Regions from separate parts of the Homo sapiens genome. Here all the other regions are linked to region 1. The links are contacts of gene promoters, found by promoter capture Hi-C in blood cells and fetal thymus (Javierre and others, 2016). All regions are on one chromosome and are shown on one strand. The core of a region is centred on a gene start or on the middle of the fragment in contact, and the rest is flanking DNA. Distances in the headings are between cores, read along the strand shown.

Evidence for each region. The method cuts DNA at HindIII sites, captures the fragments that hold promoters and counts their contacts. A CHiCAGO score of 5 or more calls a contact.
Region 2: a contact is called between the fragment with the promoter of PPP1CB here and the fragment with the promoter of MRPL33 in region 1, in 1 of 17 cell types (fetal thymus). The highest score is 5.9, in fetal thymus.
Region 3: a fragment that was not itself captured here is called in contact with the fragment with the promoter of MRPL33 in region 1 in 1 of 17 cell types (M1 macrophages); the score reaches 8.7 in M1 macrophages.
Region 4: a contact is called between a fragment that was not itself captured here and the fragment with the promoter of MRPL33 in region 1, in 8 of 17 cell types (megakaryocytes, monocytes, erythroblasts and 5 more). The highest score is 6.3, in megakaryocytes.
Region 5: a contact is called between a fragment that was not itself captured here and the fragment with the promoter of MRPL33 in region 1, in 14 of 17 cell types (megakaryocytes, endothelial precursors, M0 macrophages and 11 more). The highest score is 15.8, in megakaryocytes.
Region 6: a contact is called between a fragment that was not itself captured here and the fragment with the promoter of MRPL33 in region 1, in 1 of 17 cell types (M0 macrophages). The highest score is 5.8, in M0 macrophages.
Region 7: a fragment that was not itself captured here is called in contact with the fragment with the promoter of MRPL33 in region 1 in 4 of 17 cell types (endothelial precursors, megakaryocytes, monocytes and 1 more); the score reaches 6.6 in endothelial precursors.

The regions. Positions count from the first base shown.
Region 1 is chr2:27,770,088-27,773,150 of GRCh38, reverse strand. MRPL33 (mitochondrial ribosomal protein L33) reads right to left here and starts at 1,432. Exons shown (of 4, transcript NM_004891.4): 1 at 1,352-1,432; 2 at 459-477. The coding sequence starts at 1,373. RefSeq lists enhancers at 1,251-1,380, 621-1,437, 1,671-1,790. The HindIII fragment of the contact is 2,472 bases long and covers 819-3,063 here.
Region 2 is chr2:28,750,376-28,753,438 of GRCh38, reverse strand. It overlaps PPP1CB (protein phosphatase 1 catalytic subunit beta), which reads right to left and starts at 1,609. Exons shown (of 8, transcript NM_002709.3): 1 at 1,263-1,609. The coding sequence starts at 1,314. It overlaps PPP1CB-DT (PPP1CB divergent transcript), which reads left to right and starts at 1,683. Exons shown (of 5, transcript XR_007086259.1): 1 at 1,683-1,796; 2 at 3,054-3,063. RefSeq lists silencers at 957-1,176, 1,667-1,856 and enhancers at 1,039-1,683, 1,987-2,196. The HindIII fragment of the contact is 5,134 bases long and covers 1-2,964 here.
Region 3 is chr2:28,486,251-28,489,313 of GRCh38, reverse strand. No RefSeq gene overlaps it. Among named protein-coding and RNA genes, the nearest start is that of PLB1, 8.3 kb to the left of the region's middle. The HindIII fragment of the contact is 1,706 bases long and covers 776-2,481 here.
Region 4 is chr2:28,430,708-28,433,770 of GRCh38, reverse strand. No RefSeq gene overlaps it. Among named protein-coding and RNA genes, the nearest start is that of FOSL2-AS1, 38 kb to the right of the region's middle. The HindIII fragment of the contact is 4,706 bases long and covers 1-3,063 here.
Region 5 is chr2:28,411,532-28,414,594 of GRCh38, reverse strand. FOSL2 (FOS like 2, AP-1 transcription factor subunit) reads right to left here. Exons shown (of 4, transcript NM_005253.4): 4 at 1-2,665. The coding sequence ends at 2,147. Among named protein-coding and RNA genes, the nearest start is that of FOSL2-AS1, 18 kb to the right of the region's middle. RefSeq lists enhancers at 345-949, 950-1,554. The HindIII fragment of the contact is 7,288 bases long and covers 1-3,063 here.
Region 6 is chr2:28,371,053-28,374,115 of GRCh38, reverse strand. No RefSeq gene overlaps it. Among named protein-coding and RNA genes, the nearest start is that of FOSL2, 20 kb to the left of the region's middle. The HindIII fragment of the contact is 7,642 bases long and covers 1-3,063 here.
Region 7 is chr2:28,338,736-28,341,798 of GRCh38, reverse strand. BABAM2 (BRISC and BRCA1 A complex member 2) reads right to left here. Exons shown (of 12, transcript NM_199191.3): 12 at 2,898-3,063. Among named protein-coding and RNA genes, the nearest start is that of BABAM2-AS2, 30 kb to the right of the region's middle. RefSeq lists an enhancer at 1,210-1,829. The HindIII fragment of the contact is 1,851 bases long and covers 681-2,531 here.

The sequences.
Region 1 (3,063 bases), core at 183-2,682:
TGCTTATACCATGAATGCAAAGGATTACAAAACTCATTAAAACAGACTATGATTTAATCAAAGCAGAGTTTGTTCTTCTGGATTCCCGTAGTGAGCTCCAGACACATGGCCCCTGGTCCTCGATTTGAGGAAATGGAAATATGGTGGTAGTCCAAATACAGCACAGCCCAATGGTTTGTTTAGAAACAGACAGTGAGCTCACAAATCCTGGGACTAGAAAAGCAGCAAAGGTTCCTTCAAGTATTTCAATGCTCACAGAAGTAGCTCAGTTCAGCAGGAGGGAAAATATTTTTGAAAGAGTTCATAAAGAAAAAATAATCAACTAAGTAATCCACAAACCAACTCTTAGGAAATCAAGGCCCAATGCTTAATTTCATATAAGGATGTACTGGGAGCAGCTAGACTAACAAATCCAACATAAACAAGTGACGTTTAAAAAAGGAAAAATCTTTACTTACTTTGACTTGCTCTTGGCAACTTTTTTGTAGACAGGAAGGGTTGGAAAAGAAAATAAAAATATAAATGTATTCTCTTTCTTATGCAAAGTTCATATAAATATCAGTAATAACCAAAAATATTTAACTTATGAAATATGCCATGAGGTGTCACTCAAGTAACTATTCCCTATCTATTAGGGATCCCCTTAGGATTTTATAGAAGGAAGGTTAAAAGATCCAATCAGACCAACACAATTCTAGATTTAATATTTTGCATAATTTCATGACTGTTGGACTGGCTACCTTTTAAATCTTTCTAAAGTAATACCTGCTCCATTTTTTCCCTCTTCTAAGGTGCAAGTATTCGCGCTGCAGCAAGCTTCTTGTTTGACAAGTTTAACCTTTGCAAATTACAACAACCATCACATGTGGTGAAAACCAGATACTAAATCTAACTGGGAAGTCAGCCAAGGGTAAAGAAGAGCACTGACTCGGGAGCCCGAGGACTTCTTTAACTGCCCTGCCGCATTACTCAGGCAATTCATTGCCCCTCTCGGGAGCGGTTTCCTTATTTTTAGAGTTCGAAATAGGTGGGCTGCAAATTCTGAGGTCCTTCGGACAAAGATTCTCCTAACACGGGCTGGAGAAAAACGCCCCACAGCCAGACTCAACGGTCCGTGAGGACGGCAATTGAATCCAGACACCGCAGACCCCTTCTCAGGCACCCACAGGTCCGCGCAGGGAGGCGCGCCGCGGGGCATGCCGGACGCTGTGGTCCTGAAGGCCTGGAAAAGTACGCAGCTGCAGCTTCCCGTCCTGTTCGCACATCCTTCCCCGCATCATTCCGGGGCCCTGCCTGTCACGGCCCCCTAACCCTCGCCGTAACCCCTACCGGCGTCTCCAGCCCCACTTACAGAAGACCGCGGAGAGGAACATGGTGACCACACCTGGGCAGTCTCCGTCACCGGCCAAAAGGCCCCCAACCAACAACAACTGCTTCCGGGGCACGGCCCGGTTCTGGAAGAGGACATCCGGCAGTCGCCCGAGGCCACGCCCCCCGCCTGGAACCTGCCTCCAGTCGTCTGGCTCGTTCCTCGGTTTCTCAGAGCGAGTGTGTTTTGCTTTTGTCGTGCTGGAGGTTGGAATCCTCATCATTCTGGAAAGGGATTTACAGCTCAGGGTTCGCGCCCCGGCCCTGACTCCTATTTCTGGGTCAAGTGCTTTCAGCGTTAGGTGCTTTCCATATTTGTTTCACGAAATAATCGCAACCACCTGCATTAGACCCACAAGAACAACTGTGTATTGTACTTCGGCCGCTCCAGCGTATCAGCCCCTCGCATATTTTCTTAAAATGTTGCCTCCCCCGACCCAACTCCCTCTCCGCCTGGTTAAGCCTTACTCTCACTCTTCTGAGTCCCTTCGGCATTAAGAACCCCACCTTTCCTTAGTTATCCCAATCTCTAGGAGGGCAGGACCCTTTGCATCTCAAACTTCTGTATCCAAACACCTAGCACAGTTCCTGACATAGAAGCCAAATAACAGATTGAGAGCATTCACATCACGTGCCTAATATCACAGAACTACCAGGTGGCAGAGTAAGAATTTAAACCTAGATTTTATCTGACTCCAAAGACTCATGCCTTTCCCAGTAGACATTGGGACCTACCAGTTTGCAATCATTAATTTTTCATGGCTCTGTAAGGAACCTGGGCTCCTCTAACACCAAGGACCTCGTCAGTAACCTCATTTCGCAACTAATAATCAGGACTTTTGGATTTTTTTCCTAATCCGTGATTTGTATCTACATATGAAGTCTTACAGATGTGAAATAAGATTTAATCGCATGGCTCACGCCTGTAATCCCAGCCCTTTGGGAGGCTGAGGCAGGCAGATCACTTGAGGTCACGAGTTTGAGACCAGCCTGGCCAACGTCGCGGAATCCCGCCTGTACTAAAAATACAAAAATTAGCTGAACCCGGGAGGCGGAGGTTGCAGTGAGCCGAGATAGCGCCACTGCACTCCAGCCTGGGCGACAAAGTGAGACTCCGTCTCAAAAAAAAAAAAAAAAAAAAGTAATAAAACTGTTTTAAAGAAAATTCAGCTCTCTGTGCCATCACAAAGAAGATGAGGAGGAAAAAAATCAGCTCTCCATACAATACAATTCAATTTTTTAAATTAAGACCGTCCTTCTCCTTAGTACCTATAATACTTTTTTTCCTTCTAATCATTCTTGATATTTATCTTCCCATAACCGGACTCCAGCTACTGAGTACCTTCCAGGTGCCGAAATCCTTCCTTACCTTGCATTGGCAAAAAAGAGCTTCAGATGTTCAAGAGGATAAGGTTTCTTATATTTCCTTTAGAGGATTTATAAGAAAACACAAGACTGGAAGCCAAGGAACATGATTTCTAGTCCTTGTTCTGTCCCTTAGAAAGTCACTTTAACTTTAGCCCAGCCAAATAGCAGTTCTTAAACTCCATGCCCCTGCCCCCAACTCTATTCTCCTTACTCTTCTTTATGTTTTCCTACAGCACTTATTGCCATTAATAGTATTACTTGTGTACTTGTTGATTTCCCTATTGTCTTTGGCTACCAGAATGCTGGGCAACAGCAAAACCCTGTCTC
Region 2 (3,063 bases), core at 360-2,859, 980 kb before region 1:
TCTGGAGCAAATACACAGTATTTAGTTACAGAACAGGTACTCACAGAACTTGGGTTTGAGATACCGACACATACTTTGAGAAAAAGGAATTACCCCTCCCCCATTACAATATTCTTTGATGATTTTCCAAATATAAGTACATACTGCTTCACTCTAGCAATTATCTTAAGGTAATTTGAAAGCAAACAGTACATATGCAATCGCTGGACGGCGGCTAACAAAGAGGCCTCTAAATTGTTTAAAAAGGATTAAAGGCTTTTCTACACACTCACAAAACAATTATTGATGACGAAAACTTTAGGGTAGAGGGACTGTTTGGCAGAAGACTGCATTTAACTTTGAATAATATCCTGCAATGAATCAATACATTTAACTCCCGGCTAGTCCACCTCTTCGTTTTCCCCCCTTGCCTTCCCACCAACATAAAACTATTCAATAAGAACACTTGAGCCCGGAAAGTTCAAATGCTGCGTAGACCTACAAATACCTTTCGAATACAAGACAGGCTTTAAAAATAGATTTTCACTAAGTTTGTGCAGAAATTAAGCTCTGCTCAAATCAAATGCAAAAGCCAATCCCTTCAGCAAACCCATCTACATACATCACATTTCTTAGGTGCATCTTCAACCTGATCAAATATCTTGTCTTACAATTTTTTTAGGCCAAGTAACAAACGGTAGATTAATTCCCGCTAATTTTATCCTCTCTTTAAGAAGAATCCATTCTATATAGCATTGTGTAAAAATGCAGAGCAGACGAAGCAGTCCTGTTAAGGACAGGTTTATATATATATACGTAAAATTCACTCCCGGAACGACAATCGGAGGCAGCCAAGGGCAATGCACAAAGAGAACAGAGAAGAACAGTGATTCCACGGACGCACAAAGCCCAGTGGCAGGCATCCTCTCCCCATCCTCGGGTCACCGGAGGCGAGCACCACGGCGCGCGGAGCCCGGCGGCCTTTCCGAAAGGCTGTCTCCCGCAGACCCGCTCCGCACAGCCTTCGGCCGGCGGGCCTGGCCCCCGAGGGTCCGCGGGAACGGCCCCCTCTCCCCCGATCTCCCCTGACCGCGCTCCCAGAGGCCGCTCCCCCGCGCCCAGAGCCTCCTCGCCCCCTCCTCGGTTCGTCCGCCGCGCCGCGCTCCCAGAGACTCGTCTCGGGGCGGGAAAGGGGTCCCCTCGCGTTCCGGCGGCAGACGGGGACGCAGGGGTCGGCGGCGGTGCCCGACCTCCCTCTGTCCCGCGGCCAGGCGCGCACTCACCCTCCAGCAGCCGGGTGATGAGGCTGTCCACGTTCAGCTCCCCGTCCGCCATCTTGTCGGCACAGACTCTCCTTCCCAGCAGCGGGAACAAGGGCTTCTCGGCGGCGGAGGCTGCGGCGACGGCTCGGCGTTCTCTCACCTACAAGTCACGCGGCGTTTCGACCCCGGCTCCAACTCCCCCTTTTCCCGGGCCCTCCCCCCACCCCCTCCCCGCCGGGTAGCGAGAGCGCGCGCACACTCGGAGGCACCCACGGAAAATAAATAAATAAACAAGAGAGGCCCCCTCGAACAGGGCCGCGTCAGACCCAGGCCGCCACCTCCTCCTCCTCGGCACCGCCCAGCTCCGCAAAGCTCACCAGCGCCGCCGACGGCCCCACCCGCAGCGCCACTCACTCCGCACGTCCCTTGCGCGCCGCCGCGTCACGCAGCTCTCCGCGCAGGCGCGCGGTGCGCTCCCCGCCGAGGCTCCCCTCGACGCCTGGGCCGCCGCGCAACCGCACTGGAGCGGCTTCTCCCGCTGCCGTCTTCGCGCAGGTGCGTCGCCCTCTCTCCACGTCCACGGCGCCGAGTCTCGCCACGGTGGCGCAGGCGCCAGGGAGGTTCCCCGGCTTTGCCGCGCGGAGGAAGTCCCGGTTACGCAGAGCGCGCTGGGGCAGGGCTGACCTTCCCCTTTCTCTACTTCACTGGCCTCCTCCAGACGTGGTGGTTGCGCCCTTTCGGCCTCGCTTTCCGTTTTTTGGCTTCATCCCCTAGATCTGCAAACAGTTCCTCGTGTTTCTTCCGTTAGCCGGGAAACGCGAACTGCAGCGTTTGGGACCCGGGTTTGCGCGTGTGGAAAGCAAAAGGGGTTACTCTGCTGGAGTTCGACATTGCAAATAAAGGTCTTTATCCCCGGCGGTTCTACAAAATTAGTTCTGCAGGGATTCTGGTTGAAAGAAGCGTTAAAGTGGGCCTTGTAGGAGTCAGCAATAATCCAATTTTACATGGGTGCAGGTGGCTGCCTGTGTCTAGCGCTTTCACACATCTCATATCTTCATCCACGCCGTGGGTATTTTTTTTCCACGGTGTGTTTCTGTTGCTGCCTCCAGTATATTGCTTAATCATCCTACCTGGTAATTATTTATGCATTTTTCTCCTACTCTCGACTCAGCTCCTAGGGAATAAAAACACATTAACTTATCTTTGTGCCCACAGCACCCACCAAGTATTTCCATCACGTAATACTGCCTCTAGAAAGGCAGGAGGAGAAGCAGTCACGCTAAGGATCTAGGCAAGCCAGATCTTTTGTCCGGTTTTAGGAGGTGGCCAGCCCTTACTTATTCCACAAGTGTTTTTCCAGAAACTCAGACTTGATATTGCCTCAAGTCCAAGGCAGTGTGCTTCCCCCACTCACATATCACTAATAGTAGCTAACATTTGTTCAGATCCCTGTATGTACTCTGCCACTGTTTTAAATGTTACACCCGGGTTACCTCATTTAATCCTTACAACTGCCCTGTGAGGTAGGTACTATTATTATCTCTACTTTGTAGATGGGATTCACCGAGGCACAGACGGTTAAAAAACCTAGCCCAAATAACACAAATAAACAGCAGAGCATGCAGTGCTAGAGTCTGCATTCTTAACAATTGCTATATTCTCCCTCTCCGTGAATGTGGGCTGAGATGCTGAAACAGGCATGTGCTGTGGGGGAGAAAAAGCTTTGTCCAACCAAGTGCTTTCTAATGTCCAGATGACATAGAGCTAGGATTTCCTAATGTCTTTTTTCCCCTATTTTTCTCTCCATTTCAGGGTTGAGTTT
Region 3 (3,063 bases), core at 379-2,878, 720 kb before region 1:
GGCCAAGTTCAAGCCATGGAGACTCAATACAGACCCTGTGCTAGCAGATACCGCATAAAACCCATGTCCACTCCATCTCCATTCTGGGGAGGGGGGTCCCATGGAGACAGGCTAGTATGGCTGCTGGGTCCTGGTACATGGGAGAAACTTCCCTGGATCTTTTAGAGCTGAAATCCCCTGTGTCCTGGTCCCACGTGGCAGGGCCAGGAGATGGCTCTGGGGAGAGAAGTGTTGTGAAATTTGATGCTCTGCCCACCAGGGGGATCCTGTAGGACCACCTGCTATGGGGCTAATCTTTCCCTCACTTAATTCCCTTTGCATTCTGTCCATGGGAGCTATAATCTGTCCTTCAAATCCAAAAGAAATAACCAAAGGCTCCTAGTCTTTCCCTGGGAATCTCATGTGCTCCAGACCACAATGGGAGGCTCCTGGCTCCAACAGCCCCAAGCATCAGGCACTGACCCCATATATCCCCCTGGCCTGTGTTCAGAGGAGATCATCTGCCCAGAAAAGCTTCCACTGGACAAGGGGTCCAGGGAGGAAAGACAGCCTTTCTAGCCCCAGCCATGGCAACTTACCAGCTGGGGAAATCTCTTTATCCTCACTGCAGTCACTCTGGAATGGGCCTCTGAGCCTTTGGCTGTGTAACAGGGGATTGAGGTGGCGTGGCATGGGATGGCATGGCATGGTGTCATCAGCTTGTTGGGGCTGAGCTGTCAACATCATCAGACACTGGCACGTGGGTGTTAATAGCTTTGGCAATGATGTGCAAGCTTGCTTGCTCTCCCAGCTACGCAGTCCCACTATTTACCTTGATGGCACTCCCTGGGGAGAGGGTGGTGGTATAAGAGTAGGCAGGAGAAGATGAGGTGAGACTGGGACTGGCGTCTGTCCCCAGGGCCCTGATGCAGACTGGCCACTAGGCCTGGCTAGGTAGAGAGATCTGTGCTGACCTCCAGCCATAGGGACATCGAGCTGGACTGGGCACAGCCCTGAGTTTACCATCTCAGCTGGCTCCATCCTGAGGGACTGCCTACCACCTCTGCCTCTGGGCACCACTAGCTGACATTGCAGCCTCCTGTTCCTTCCCCTCCTCCCCCTCCCCTCCCCCTCCCCTCCCCCTCCTTCTCCTCCTTCTCCTCCTCCTTCTCGTTCTTCTTTTTGAGACAGGGTCTCATTCTGTCACCCAGGCTAGGGTGCAGTGGCTCAATCTTGGCTCACTTGGCTCACTGCAACCTCTGCCTCCTGGGTTCAATCCATCCTCCCACCTCAACCTCCAAAGTACCTGGGACCACAGGTGTGTGCTACCATGCCAGGCTAATTTTTGTATTTTTTATAGAGACGGGGTTTCACCATGTTGCCCAGACTGATCTCGAACTCCTGTGCTCAAACCATCCACCCACCTCAGCCTCCCAAAGTGTTAGGATTACAGGCATGAGCCGCCATGCCCTGTTCCTCTCTTCCTTCATGGATTCGGTAAGGGCTTTGTTTGTAACTGCAAGGTTAGCACCCAAAGAGAAAACTTGAGGAAACAGAATTTTCAAATTCCACATCTTCTCCATTCTAATCCCTGCATATTTTCATAGTACAATCTTTCTGAAACAGACTCTGTCTTATAATCCACAAAAATGTTTAGAAACTTGCCACACAGAGAGCGGGTGGGAAAGCCAGATTTTCAATCCAGTTTTTGTGCAGCAAAAACTTGTGTCTCTTAACCCAAGACACAACACCGCATCACTTTTGTTCAGTTGGGTATGGTCCTTAACTGACTCTCAGAGGCCTTCTAGGAGTATGTGGGAGGAGGAGCATCCAGGGACACGGCTCTCCAGAGAGTGGCTGGAATCTCAGCGTGGTCTCTGTGGGAAGCCTGGATGCCTCCTTCTACCTCCTACTCACTTTCTTCTTTGCTTCTGAGACAGAGCTGCTCAGACCAAGTTTCCAATTGTTCCTCTCTGTTGACCTTGAGATCCATGTTTCCTTAGTCATCCTGAGACTCTGAGTTCTGTGCACCTTAACATTTCTTACCTGAATTTGTGTACAATCCCTTCCGGGTCAGCATCCATCACCAGGGTGACCTTTCTAAAACACCTTCTGCTTACTTGTCCCTACCCTTCAATGTGGCTTCTGCTCCCACCACACTACTAGAATTGCTTGAAGGTCAGTAATTTGTTCAATCCAATAAACAATGAGGTCCTCAGACCTCATCTTACTTGCCATCTCAGCAGCATTTCACAGCCAACCTCGGCCCCTACTCTTGGACAACTTGCCCTTGGCCTCCAGGCTTCCAGTTTCCTGGTTTCTTCTCTCCAGCAGTTCCTTCTTGGCCTCCTTTGCCAGCTCCTTCTCTGCTGCTGAAGTTCGTCTGGAGCCTCCTCTTTCTACCTGTCTCTCAAGGTGACCACATACACCCCATTGTTTACTTAAAAATCTATGTTGACCATTCCCCCATTTCAATTTCCAGTCGGACCTCTCTTCTAAGCTTCAAACCCCATAAACTCATTCATGGACTAAGTCTCCACTTTGATGTTTCAGAGGCACCTCAAACTCAAGGAGTTAAGAACCAAACATATGATCTTCCCTGACTCATTTGTAGCCCCATCGGATATGACAAAAGTGGCTCATGAAACCACTCACTGTTCTCCATCTCCACTGCCCCCAGATGGGCCCAGGCATCTGTCCCTGCTCCCCTGAACAGCTGCCCAGCTGCTCCATGTCTACACACGCTTGTTCCAGTCTTTTCGTTTTCACACACAACAGCCTGAACAATCTTGTCAAAGGGCAAACCTGATGTCACACCCTTGTATAAAACCCTCACCAGCTTCCCACTGCCCTGCAGATCAAGTCCAGCCATTGTAGTGTCACTTACAAGGCCCTGTGCTCCCTCCTCTCTCCAGCTTCAAGTCCCACTTGGCCCATCTTCTCTGACCTCAGGCTCACTGAGGCTCCATCATATTCTTAAAAATGTCATCCTTTTTGCATCCTGGCAGCCCTAATGTGTGCTGTTCCCTCTGCCCAGAACTCTCAGACTGTGTCAGTACCCTTCCCACCTCTTGACCTCCCTAA
Region 4 (3,063 bases), core at 346-2,845, 660 kb before region 1:
TGTCCTTATAAAAGGAGAGGAAGAGACATTAGGGTGCCCACAAACGGAGGGACAACTATGGGAAGAGGCAGCAAGAAAGCTGCCATCTGCAAGCCAAGGAGTGGGGCCCCAGGATCAACCAACCCTGACAGCACCTTGATCTTGGACTTCCAGCCTCCAGCACTCTGCACGGATACATTTCTGTTGTTTAAGCCTCTGGTCTATGGTGTTTTGTTGTGGCAGCCTTAGTAGATTAATACACCACATAAAGCACTAGAACAGTATCTGGCATACAATACGCAATAAATGCTAACTACTACCACCATCAACATTCTTTCCCTCCATTGTATACTCACACTGTATTAGTTTCTGATTGCTGCTATAACAAGTTACCACAGCTGTACCAGCTTAAACACAAGTTTATTACCTTATGGTTCTAGGAGATCCTAGAACCATAAATGTGTGCTGTTTACATAAGTCAAGAGTCTCCTTGGGCTAAAATAAAGGTATCTGCAGTGCTGCATTTCTTCTGGAGGCTCCAGGGGAGAGTCCATTTCTTGCCTTTTTCAGCTTCCAGAGGCTGCCTGCATTCCTTGGCTTATGGGCGCTTCCTCCGTCTTCAAAGTCAACAGTATAGCATCTTCAAATTTTTCTCTGGCCCTCCTGCCTCTCTAAGGATCCACAGGATTATATCAGACCCTCCCTGATTATCAGGGTAACTTTCCCATCTTAAGAGCCTTAATTCAGTGACATCTGCGAGGGTACTTTTGTCATTTAGGATAACATATTCAAAGATTTGGGGGATTAGGATGTGTACATATTTGGGGAAGCATTACTCTGTCACACACACAATGTATTATAAAGTGAGAAAAGCAAGCTGTAGGACAAATGCATATAGATCGATCTTGTTTATGTAAAAAAAATCAAATAAATTTCTACAGAGAAAATAAATACAGACAGAATGAAACTGACAAAACTATTAACCATGGCATTTTCTGGGGCTTCACACTGTGCATTTAAAAACATTTTTTATAACATGCGTCTTGTTCATTAATTATTTTTACGATTTTTAAAAATTTTTGGTAAGTAATCCAAAGAAAAAAAGAAGACACATGTACTCATCTTTGTGGGGCCCCGGCTAGAGTCATCAAATAAATCGCCAGTACCAAAAGCTCTCCGTAAGTATTCTAGGCAGTGTGGGCAGAGCACTGTGGCCACTGGGGCAGGAGCCGCCCACTGCCTGGGGCACCCTGGAAGGCTTTGGAGGAAGTGACACTTCTGCTGAGTTCTTCCGGAGAAGAAGGAGTTCTCCAGGTAGAGGGAAGGGAGAAAAGTATTGCAGATGACCACGGCTCAAAAGGAGTCTGCCCTTTATCTGGCAGTGTAGGTGATGTGGAGTAGAGGCTGGAGGTAGGAATCTGCCACTTGACCATGGCCAGCCACGTGGAGAGATAAAGGCAAAGGGAAGGGAAGCTCCTACCTGGAGCCGCAGGCTGCCAGGCCCCAAGCTGAGCGGTTTTGTAGGCATTTCCTCACTGGGTATAAATGAACCTTGGCTGTATGATTTATGGGAGGAGAGAGGGTCCGGAATGGATGAGAAGCATGAGAAAAGGAGGCAGGGGCTTGGGGCAGGGTCTACCGTTAGAGCAGCAGATGCAGGCTGGGAGGGGTAGGGCCAGAGCTGGAGGAACACCCTCCCCACGCTATCCCCAGACACTTCTGGGCTTCTTATGGCCCCATCCACCAGTTCTGCCCCAAGGCAGGTCTAAGTTCCAGAAAAGACTTAGGCAGCCTAATAGGACTTGGGGCCAAGGGAGCTTCCCAGGGACCCTGACCCTGGACCTGGTGCCTAAGGGTCGACAAGTGATCTCCAAGAGGTGCCCCAGGCAAGTGGCCACAGACCTGGCCCAGGTCATCCTGGCAGCAAGGTGCTCTGCATAAAATCCTTGAAGGGTATGGTATCCAAGCCAGGGCCAGGCGTGGGTTAGGTGGGGGTGCTGGGCCCGCTGGTGGGGAAAGCAGGCTGAGGGACTTCAACCAGTGGCCATCCACCTCATGAGCTTGTCCTGACTTGGAGAGACAGCACATGTCTTGAGGATGCAGCTGCAGATATAACAGATCTGTCTGTGGCAGAGAGAGATGGTGGGGTGAGCGGGATTGGATTAGGGGGTACCATCTGCAGGGTGCCAATGGCATGCTGGCTCCCATGATGGGCTCAGATCTCTGTTCTGTCAGTCTCAAGCTGTGTGCCCTTGGACCAGCTATTTAGCCCCTTCCTCGATTTTCCCATCTCTAAAGTGAGGGTAATGATAGTGTCTACTACATAGGCTGCTGTGTGTTAAGTGCATAGAACAGCTGGCGCATGGTGAGGCTGCTTCGGTGCTAGTGGCAATTCCTTGTGGCCCCTTCAGGGATCTCCCAGCTGCGCCTGGCAGGCAAGGGCCCCTTCAGGGTTTCCACACTACCCAGTGCCACTCTCAACCAGTCACCCTCTTACACCTGCTCCCAGGGCCCATGTGTGGCCTACTGCCCAGGGAGGAAAGGAGTGCTGGCTCTGGGGTGGTGGTTATGAGGCTGGGGGCTCTGAAATGCCAGAAGCACGGCCCCTGGTGTGAGAGGAGAGGACAGGAGGAGGTGGGGTTCCAGAGTAGCAGAGACACTAAACAGGGAGATCCTCCCAGGGCTGAGCCGAGCACACCTGCTGGTCACCAAATGCCCAGGGTTGGGCATCAGAGACAGCCTCATATGGGCCAGAGCTCCTTAGCTCTGTGTCACAATGCCGAGGTGTCTTTCATTATCTCAGGGGCCATTGTGAAAACATCTGTGTGCCAGGAAGCCCTGCTGAGAAGGTGGAAGTAGGCGTCACAAAGTCAGAAATACTGATGGGTTTGGTTCCACTCTGGAGAGGCAGGTTGTAGGGGATGGATCTGGATACTGATTCTGGCTGCAGGACCAGCATGCCAGGGCCTTCAGAATCCTCCAATGGCTCATGGAGATGGACAGGTATGCTGACCCACTCGGGAGCACAGCTACCTCCCACAGGAAGGACCCTCTCCCAGGAAGAGGGCAGGGGATCAGTGCAGA
Region 5 (3,063 bases), core at 168-2,667, 640 kb before region 1:
AAATACCACTTGAGATGATTACCCCTGTGAGAGCTGAGTGCACCCCAGTTTTCTTTGCCCATCTCCTGCTACTCCTGGCTCATTCTGCTGCTTGGATTCATCTCAAGCCAGAAACCCAACTGCCCAATCTTCTTAGAAGGGTCCCTCCCAGAGCCCCTGGGAAATCGGGAGAGGGGCATCACAGCCAAGGGATGCAGGAAATAACATTTTTAAAGTATTTTAAACAAAATCCTTTTTCTTTGAAACCCTCCTTTCTGCATCACTTGTACAGGTCACTTCCAGTCCCACTGGCCCATGTACTTTAAGCATACGGCTGTTCCACTCTGTGTGTCTAGTGCACGAAAACAGGTCATGTTCATGAAATAACATGCGAGGGAACAGCTGTGTGAATGTGTCACTGCTTTCTCCACGGGGGATCTTAATTATCTTTCAAACGAGGATACTGTGACCTCTAGAGCTGAATCCCCAGCAGCAGAGTCTTTGCAGAGCACAAGCCCCGCAGAGGCTGGTTCTGGCCAGGAGCTACTCCCTGGATTCCTGTCAAGGCCCTGCTGGACAAGAAACTCAGCAGGAGCCATACCCTGGGGAGAAAAGGCTCAGAGGGGTGGGCAGCAGGGACCCTGCTGAGCTGTGCTCCTGCTGGAGGCCAGGGGGACCCTTCCCCAACCCCGTGAAAGGGGGCAGCTCTCCTGCAGTGGGAAGCAAAACATCCTATCTCCAATTCCAGCAGCCAGAAAGATTCAACAGACAACCAGGAATGGCGCATGAGCCACAAGCCACAGCGACAGCTCAGGCCAGCTGTTCACAGCTTGCTTGCTGCCTGGGCCAGAAGAGTGCACTGGGGTGGGGACAGGGGAGTGTAAAAGAGAAAGCACTTGATCCAGCAGGTGGCAGATGACCACAGAGGGCAGGAAAGGCCCGGTGCCCTGCGGGGAGGTGAGCAGCCAGGACAGGCTGAGCGGGTGCTGGGGCAGCAGCTGCTGCAGACGCCACTCCAGTGACGGCCTCCCGCCTCCCTCCCCTGCCTCTCCATCCTCAGCAAATGCTTCTTTGAGGCTTGGGGAGGGGCTGCCTGGCAGCATCTGGGGAAGGTCCAGGCCCACGCTCATTAAATCTCTGTGGGTGGCGTCACCCTGAGAGCCAGGGTGGGGGAAAGGCGGAGCCCGGCAGGGACTTGGAGTATAATGTGTGGCTCCTAGGGAGGGACGCCTCCCTGGTCCGGAGAGAAGGGTCCAGGGGCAGAATGGCAAGGCAGTAATTACAGGAGACGCCCTACTCAAGACACCAGGTGAAGGGAAGCTGGCTAGGACACCCGTGTGGCTTTGTTGGCATGCTTCCTGGCCTGGTAATTAGGCGTTTGGCAAACCCAACCTGTGCCCCACTGTCTCACTCACACCCTGTCTTCTGGCCAAGCCGTTCCTCCAGAAGCCGTCTCCGAAGGTGGGCAGGAAGGGTCCTCTGAGCCTCCCAGTGATGGCAGCATCTCCTTGAGAGCTCAGGGAGCCCCGCTGGGAGTTCTGGAGATGATGACTGGGAGGCGTCAGGGTAGGGAAGGCTCTGTATTGCACTTTGTCCCCTTCTGGACAAGTCAGCCCCAGCAGAAGAGCCACCTGCTGCCCCATCTCCAGAAATGAAGAGCTTTAATATTCAGACCACCCAGATGAAATGTCATGGCAAATTTGATAAAAACCAAGAGGGAGTGAAACTGACGCTGGGGGAGGAAAGGGTCAAGTCGAGGGAAGGTGAAACCAAAAGGCACTGAGCATGCGTGGTGGGGCAGGGAAGGACACCATCACTCCAGAGACAGTATGGTAACAAAGGGACAGGAATGGTCCAGGCCAGCTTCAGGCTCTTCAGAAGCCAGAGAGATGTCCAAGTCTACCAAACCGAGTTCTCCAAGGCTTTTCAAGAAATGGGATTTGCTTGCAAGATGAATGAGGGAGGAGGTCCCATGGCTTCTAAGAGATCAACCCAAGTCTTCCAATACTCACTGCTAAGTCCCACCTGGGTCCCCCAGAGCCAGGAAGCTCCCTGGTGGCAGGTCCCCCTCTTGCCCTCACGGCCCTGGAGCGCTTGAAGGTGCTGGTCCCTGGGAAGGAGGAGCGAGGAGGACCCCCTCCGGAGCTGGGGAGGGAGGTGCACTGGGTTACAGAGCCAGCAGAGTGGGGGAGTTCAAGGAGTCTGATGATTGGTCCCCGCTGCTACTGCTTCTGCGGTGAGCCTTGGAGCAGGATTCGGAGGGAGATGCGGGTGACTCCTGCTCCAGGACGCTAGGATAGGTGAAGACGAGGTTCGAGGTGCCCGGAGTGACAGCAGGTGTGGAGGTCACCACGATGGGGGTGTGCAGGGGCTCCTCACCGTAGAAGCCCCCAGCAATGCTGATGGGCTTGATGACAGAGCGCTGGGCCTTGTCCAGCCCCGCCGACGAGGACGAGGGGCTGTCCTCTTCCAGGGGCTCCTGTTTCACCACTACAGCGCCCACCGAGCCACCCCCACTGCGCATGGGCTGCAGCCCAGGGGCTGGGGGCGATCGGCGCTCCTCGGGGCTAATCTTGCACACTGGGCCGTGAGCCACCAACATGAACTCCAGCTTCTCCTTCTCCTTCTGCAGCTCAGCAATCTCCTTCTGCAGGCCTGACTTCTCCTCCTCCAGCTCCTCTGTCTCCTGCCACGGAAAGAGAGGGATGTGAGGGACAGCAACCTGCCAGGGACCAATCTAGGCAGGAAAGAGAAAACCAGTAATGTTCTCAGACACTGTGAGAGCAGAGGCTCACACACCTAACCACAGACCCCGCTGGTCTGAGTCTCTCAGTCACCTGGAGGCTCAAGATTCCTTTCATTTCCAAAGAAGGAAAGTCAGCTTGGAGAGGGGGTAAGACAACAACTGCAGCTGCCATAACCCAGCACCTACTTTGTGCAGGGCACAGTGTTAAGCATTTCAGAGATGATCTCATTCAATCTTCCAGGAGTTTTTTGGAAGCAGATGTTATCATCGCCCCATTTTGCAGATGAGGAAACTGAGGTTCAGAGGGGTTCTGTTAATTTTCCAAAGTCACCGAGCTA
Region 6 (3,063 bases), core at 324-2,823, 600 kb before region 1:
CCCAGCCTCAGAACATCAATCCCTACCAGGGTTGCCCTGTTACACAACTCCACGCAATCGTCCTGCAACCCACTCCCTAGGACAAGAGCACGAGATGAGAGACATTGATACTCAGTGGTGTATTGGTAAATGTTTAATATCCAGTTCTTAAAAAAAAAAAATCCAAGTAACCCCCAAAACCCAAAACAACAATAACCTGATGTATAGCATTTGCAAATTGTCATGTTAGGGAAATTCAGGGAAGACTCTCCAGGTTGGCCTATGTTTGCTCTGAAAAATAGGGGTTAGGTCATCTGACAAAAAAGGATGGGGAGAGAGACAGGTGGGGGCTCGAGGACAGAGGTAAAAGTTTGGAAACTCTGTCTCAGGAACGCAAGGGGCTGTTGACCACAAGTAAAAGCACTCGTGAGCATTGGGCACCACACATTTGCAGTGGCACCTGTTGGCAGAGCTGTGCAAAAGCCAGTTGCAGGGTAACCTGGGGTGGTGTTAGGTTTATTCACTAGTAATTTATTTTAAAATAACTTTAAACTTCCAGAAACATTTCAAGAACAGTACAAGGAACTGCTATATCCCCTTCACCCAGTTTCTCTGATTGTTAACATTTTACCATATTTGTGCCTTCTCTCTCTCTCTGTGCCTCCCTATTCCTGTCTCTTTCTCTTCCTATGTATATATGTATAGAGAGTTGCATCTGTTTTTTTTTTGTTTTTTTTTTTTTTTGCTGAACCATTTGAGAATTTCAGAACAATTTATAGACTCGATGCCTCATTACCCCTAAGTACTCCAGTTTATATTTCCCCAACACAACATCTTCTCCTTGTTACTATCATTAAATCCTCCAAATTAGGAAGTCATAATTAATTTAACACCATCCTCCAACCCATGGACCCCATCCAGATTTCTCCAACTGTCCCAATGATGCCTCATTTGCCTTTCTGGTCCAGGTTCCAAGTCAGGGTTCTGAGCTGCGTTGAGTTGTCATGCCTCATTAGTTTCCTTGAATAGGAAACAGATCTTCAATCTCTCCTTGTCTTTTGTGACCTTGACAGTCTTCAAAAGTTTGGGCCATTTATTTGGTAGAATATGGCCCCCCAAATGAGTCTGTCAGTTGCCACTCTGGGGCTGGGCATTCTTGGCAAGGATGCCACAGAAGAGATGCCATGTTCTCCTCGGGGCATTACACATTGGGCTTATGATTCTGACCTGTCCCACCATTAGTGATGTTAACCTTGACACCAGGTCAGGTTGGTGCCTGAAAGATTTCTCCACCATAAACTCACCGTCTTTCCCTTTGCATTTGATAGGTATGTGGTGAGGAGATGCCAAGACTATAAAGCCTGTTCCTCATCAAATCTCGCCCACCAGCCTTAGCATCGTTTGATGACTCTGACCTTAATCAATCACCATTATGATGGTTGCCAAACAGTGACTATTTCTGTCACTCACTCTACATTTATCAGCTGGCATTCTACTGTAAGAGTTTTCCTTTCTCCCTCATTTATTTATTCATTCATTCACTTATATCCATCTGGACCCATGGATCTCCACTGTAGTCAAAGCGTTGTGATCCGTTACTGTAATTATTTCTTTTGATGCTCAAATTCTCTCAGTTTTAGTCAGTAGGAGCCCCTTCAGGCAGACTCCTGTGTCATTTTGACATGTCCGCGTTGTTCTTTGAGCACTTCCTTACTTTCTGACACAAAAAGATGTTCCAGTCTCATCTTGCATTATCTCTGTTCCAGTCCTGGGATCACCCCTTTCTCCAAGGATCTCTGGTTCTGTTTAGTGGAGAATGGCATTTATTTATTTATTTACTCATTATTATTATACTTTTAAGTTCTAGGGTACACGTGCACAACGTGCAGATTTGTTACATATGTATACATGTGCCATGTTGGTGTGCTGCACCCGTTAATTCATCATTTACATTAAGTGTATCTCCTAATGCTATCCCTCCCCGCTCCCCCTACCCCACCACAGGCCCCGGTGTGTGATGGTCCCCACCCTGTGTCCAAGTGTTCTCATTGTTTAATTCCCACCTATGAGTGAGAACATGCGGTGTTTGGTTTTCTGTCCTTGTGACAGTTTGCTCAGAATGATGATTTCTAGCTTCATCCATGTCCCTACAAAGGACATGAACTCATCCTTTTTTATGGCTGCATAGTATTCCATGGTGTATATGTGCCACATTTTCTTAACCCAGTCTATCACTGATGGACATTTGGGTTAGTTCCAAGTCTTTGCTATTGTGAATAGTGCCGCTGTAAACATACGAGTGCATGGGTCTTTATAGCAGCATGATTTATAATCCTTTGGGTATATGCCCAGTAATGGGATGGCTGGGTCAAATGGAATTGCTAGTTCTAGATCCCTGAGGAATCGCCACACTGTCTTCCACAATAGTTGAACTAGTTTACAGTCCCACCAACAGTGTAAAAGTGTTCCTATTTCTCCACATCCTCTCCAGCACCTGTTGTTTCCTGACTTTTTAATGATCACCATTCTAACTGGTGTGAGATGGTATCTCATTGTGGTTTTGATTTGCATTTCTCTGATGGCCAGTGATGGTGAGCATTTTTTCATGTGTTTTTTGGCTGCATAAATGTCTTCTTTTGAGAAGTGTCTGTTCATATCCTTCGCCCACTTTTTGATGGGGTTGTTTGATTTTTTCTTATAAATTTGTTTAAGGAGAATGGCATTTAAAAATTGAGATCTGGGGCTTTCTAGCTTACTGCTACTGGGGTATCATTGCCTCGTAGTAATTGCCTCTAATCAACAGCATCGGTTGTCAGTTCCAGAATGATGTTAAACAATAGTGGCAAATCCTGGCATCCTCTTCTTGTGCCTGAGTTGAACATCAATATCCCTCGTGTTTCAGCATCACGCATGGTGCTGCCTATTGGTCTGACACAGGTATTTTTTAATCACATCAAAGAAGCATACTTCTATTTCAGTTTTACTAAGAGATTTTTTTTAAAGCAGCTATGTTGGATGTTATATGTTTCTTGGCATCTATCTAGATAGTCAAATTGTTTTTCCTCTTTTGACCTATTAATGGGA
Region 7 (3,063 bases), core at 357-2,856, 570 kb before region 1:
CAGAGTCCCTCTCAATAAAACAAAACAAAAAAAAAGGGTCATTTGGCTGTAGGCGATGGGTCCTCAGGAAGCCGGGCTGCTGGAAGAAGCTGAGCATTGGCTAACCAGGGTCCCTTGCCCCTCCTTCTCGGGGCCTCACAGATGCTTGATCATATCCAAGTATTGCTGGTAAACACGTGTGAGTCCTTTTCCTCATCAGTGCTAAGCAAGAGAGATTCAACTGAAATTACAAGGGCTGAGTAAGCCGGAGACAGGATTTACTAAGTATTAATAATATGCTGTCACATATGGTTCTTTTCATCTTCAAAGCATTTTATAGCCATTTACTAATTAGTCTTGGGCTGCCCTCTGTGTGCAGGTACGATGCTCGATGACAGGCTGAACCGGCAGGAAGTATTTACAAATATACAGGTGACCTTCACTCGTTTACAGGCGCCACCGGCTTCTGTTGCTGTTGCGGGGTAAAGATAAAATCACGCAAACCCTGGTGTTTGAGTCCCTGGTTCTGGAAACATACAGTGGTGACTGTCACCTTGTGCTGAATCCCCTCTAAGAAAACCAGCCCAAATCCTCCCCTGTGGCAAGGAAGCTGAAAGTCTTTTAAAAATAATCATAAATTTCCATCTTCACAAACCTATATAACGTCCATCATCCTTCACTGGGAAATAAAAAAATAAGCTTCAGTTTGTTCACGAGAGTATCGACACACGTGAGAATTGTTGCTGGAGGGGAGCCAAGAGCCTGGATTTGGTCTTGGCTCCGGCCCTGACCGGCCGGTGATCGTGGGTAACTCACTTAACTTCTCTCATCTTCTGTTTCCTCATCTGTGGAACAAAAGCAACCCTATTCAGTTGCTCACAGCCCAGGTCTGCTGTAAAGCTGTGTGAGCTAATGTGTGTGGCAAAACTTCTGAGTTAGACTGTGTGCTTCGCTGATGGGCAGGGTCTCATTCGTTTTCTGGGTCTGTGGGCCCCCAGGGGCTGGCAGGGGCAGGAGGATGACATTCCCAGACCACACTGCCCACTACTGGCTGCTGTCACTGCTGAATGCTTATTTGAAATGCTGAGGGGACGACCAGTCCACAGGACCTCACCCCCTCCCACAGTGCCAACCACCATCTGCTAGAAGTGGAACCAGTAAGAGTTGACTGAGCCTGGGCTTGCTTCAGACCCAGTTGCAGCTCAGAAGCAAGTCCGGGCTCAGTCAACTCTTGGTGCTGTGCACAGTAGAGCCCAATCCGTACCCCTCCATCAGGGGAGGGTGCCCCTAGCAATCCTAAGTGACCATGCCATGGCACCTTAGTGGGGGATGGAGGGGACATGGGGCATAGCACACAGCTGCCCTGAGTAGAGGGGCACCTTCTTGTGGGCACTCAGCGGGTCAGGGTCAGAAGCAGTGCCAGTGTGGTCAGCTGGCTTAGTGGGTCATGATCACTTGCTCAGTAGAATCGCTGGGGGAGTTTTATCAAAATCTAGAAGGCTAAGCTCCAGCTAGTGAGATTCCAAGTCAACAGGCCTGCAGTGGGAACTACCAGAGCAGTAGTTCCTAAAAAAATCTCCCCGGGTGATCTGATGAGCTGAGCCCACAATCCAGTCCAGCCCCCTCCTAGTATTAATATTATGGAGAGGAAGGGACTTACTCAAGGCCACATAGCCAGTTAATGGCAGGGCTGGGATATGGACATAGGACACTGGACTGTTGTTCTTGTCCTGGGAATTCCCAAAGTTTCAGGGTAGGGGGCATAGTACCCACACGGTGAAAAAACCCAGAGTTGGGCAGGCCTCCAGCTGACAGGCAAGATGGGAGGTCTGTTCCAGCTGATCTCCAGCCTCCTGAGAACATTCCTGGGTGCCAGAGAACACAGGAAGCAGAGGCACGACTTCTCCTCACCAGTCTTCACAAGGGCCCAGGGATGGTTCTCTTTTGCGCTCACCTGGTAAAAATGGGCTCCAATAGCCACGAGGGGAACTAAGGGACCAGGTGAGAGGCCCTGTAAAATCATGTGTGTGTCCTGCAGGAGGGGCCAGTGGCTTCGCCTTGGAATGGGAAGGCCAGAGGGTGTCAGGTCGAGCACCCAGGCCAGCTCTTGCCCTCACCTCTGTGGGTGGTGCGTGGGCCCTGCTTCCCTGTGTGGAAGGCCATCAGGACAGGACCATGCTAAACCAAACTGTAAACCTGGTGATATGGCCAAGCCGACGGTAGCCATCTTGTGTTTCAGCTAAGCGAGTGTGTGATGGTACAAGGAGGCCTGGCTCCAAGTTCCCAGGTTTGTTCCTAATTTGCTGTTTCTAATTTGCATGTTTCCTTAACTCTTGGGCCTTAGTTCTGTCCTCTGTACACTGAAGGGAGTAACGGGGTAGAAACGAGATGACTTCTGAAGACCCTTCTGGCTGTGATGATCAGTAAGTTCAGGGAAGATGTCGCCTGCTCAGGGTATCTTCCCCAGCTCTGTTCCTGGCTGGCTGCACAACTGCCAGTCCCCAAGCCCAGAAAGCAGACACATTCCTCTGATAAACCATGACACCCAAGCTTTGTCTTTGTGTATAATTCACACAGTGCTGCAGAGGCCCAGAGGGGATGGAGAGGGGAGAGCCGGAAGGACAGAGCCGTTGGTGCACTCACCAAACTTTAATGACTGCCTACTGTGTGGGGCTGGCCTGGGAACAAGGTGTCCACACAGGGGGCTGGAGGGGTATGGATGGCAGCGGGTGGGGCTGTGTGTGCTAGAGGCCATTTGTTATTGAGCAACAGCCTTAGGTCAGGCTGGATGAGTGGCTGAAACCCAGCAGGTTGGTCACATTGACTCAGGTAACTCCTTCTCGCCGTGAAGGACTGCCCCAGATAGGAAATGCTTGGGTATGAAACACACACATGCACGCACAGAGGGAAGACACTAGTTTCAGAGGAAGAACAGCGAGGGGCATTTAATCTTAGAACTTAAGAGGTCTCAGAGACAAAGGCTTTGGAAGAAAGGCGTGGGCATTCCTGAGGCTTTACTTTCCCCGGAAAATTACTGCACCATAATTTGTGAGTTTATTTCTTCCAACTAAGAAATAGAGGCAA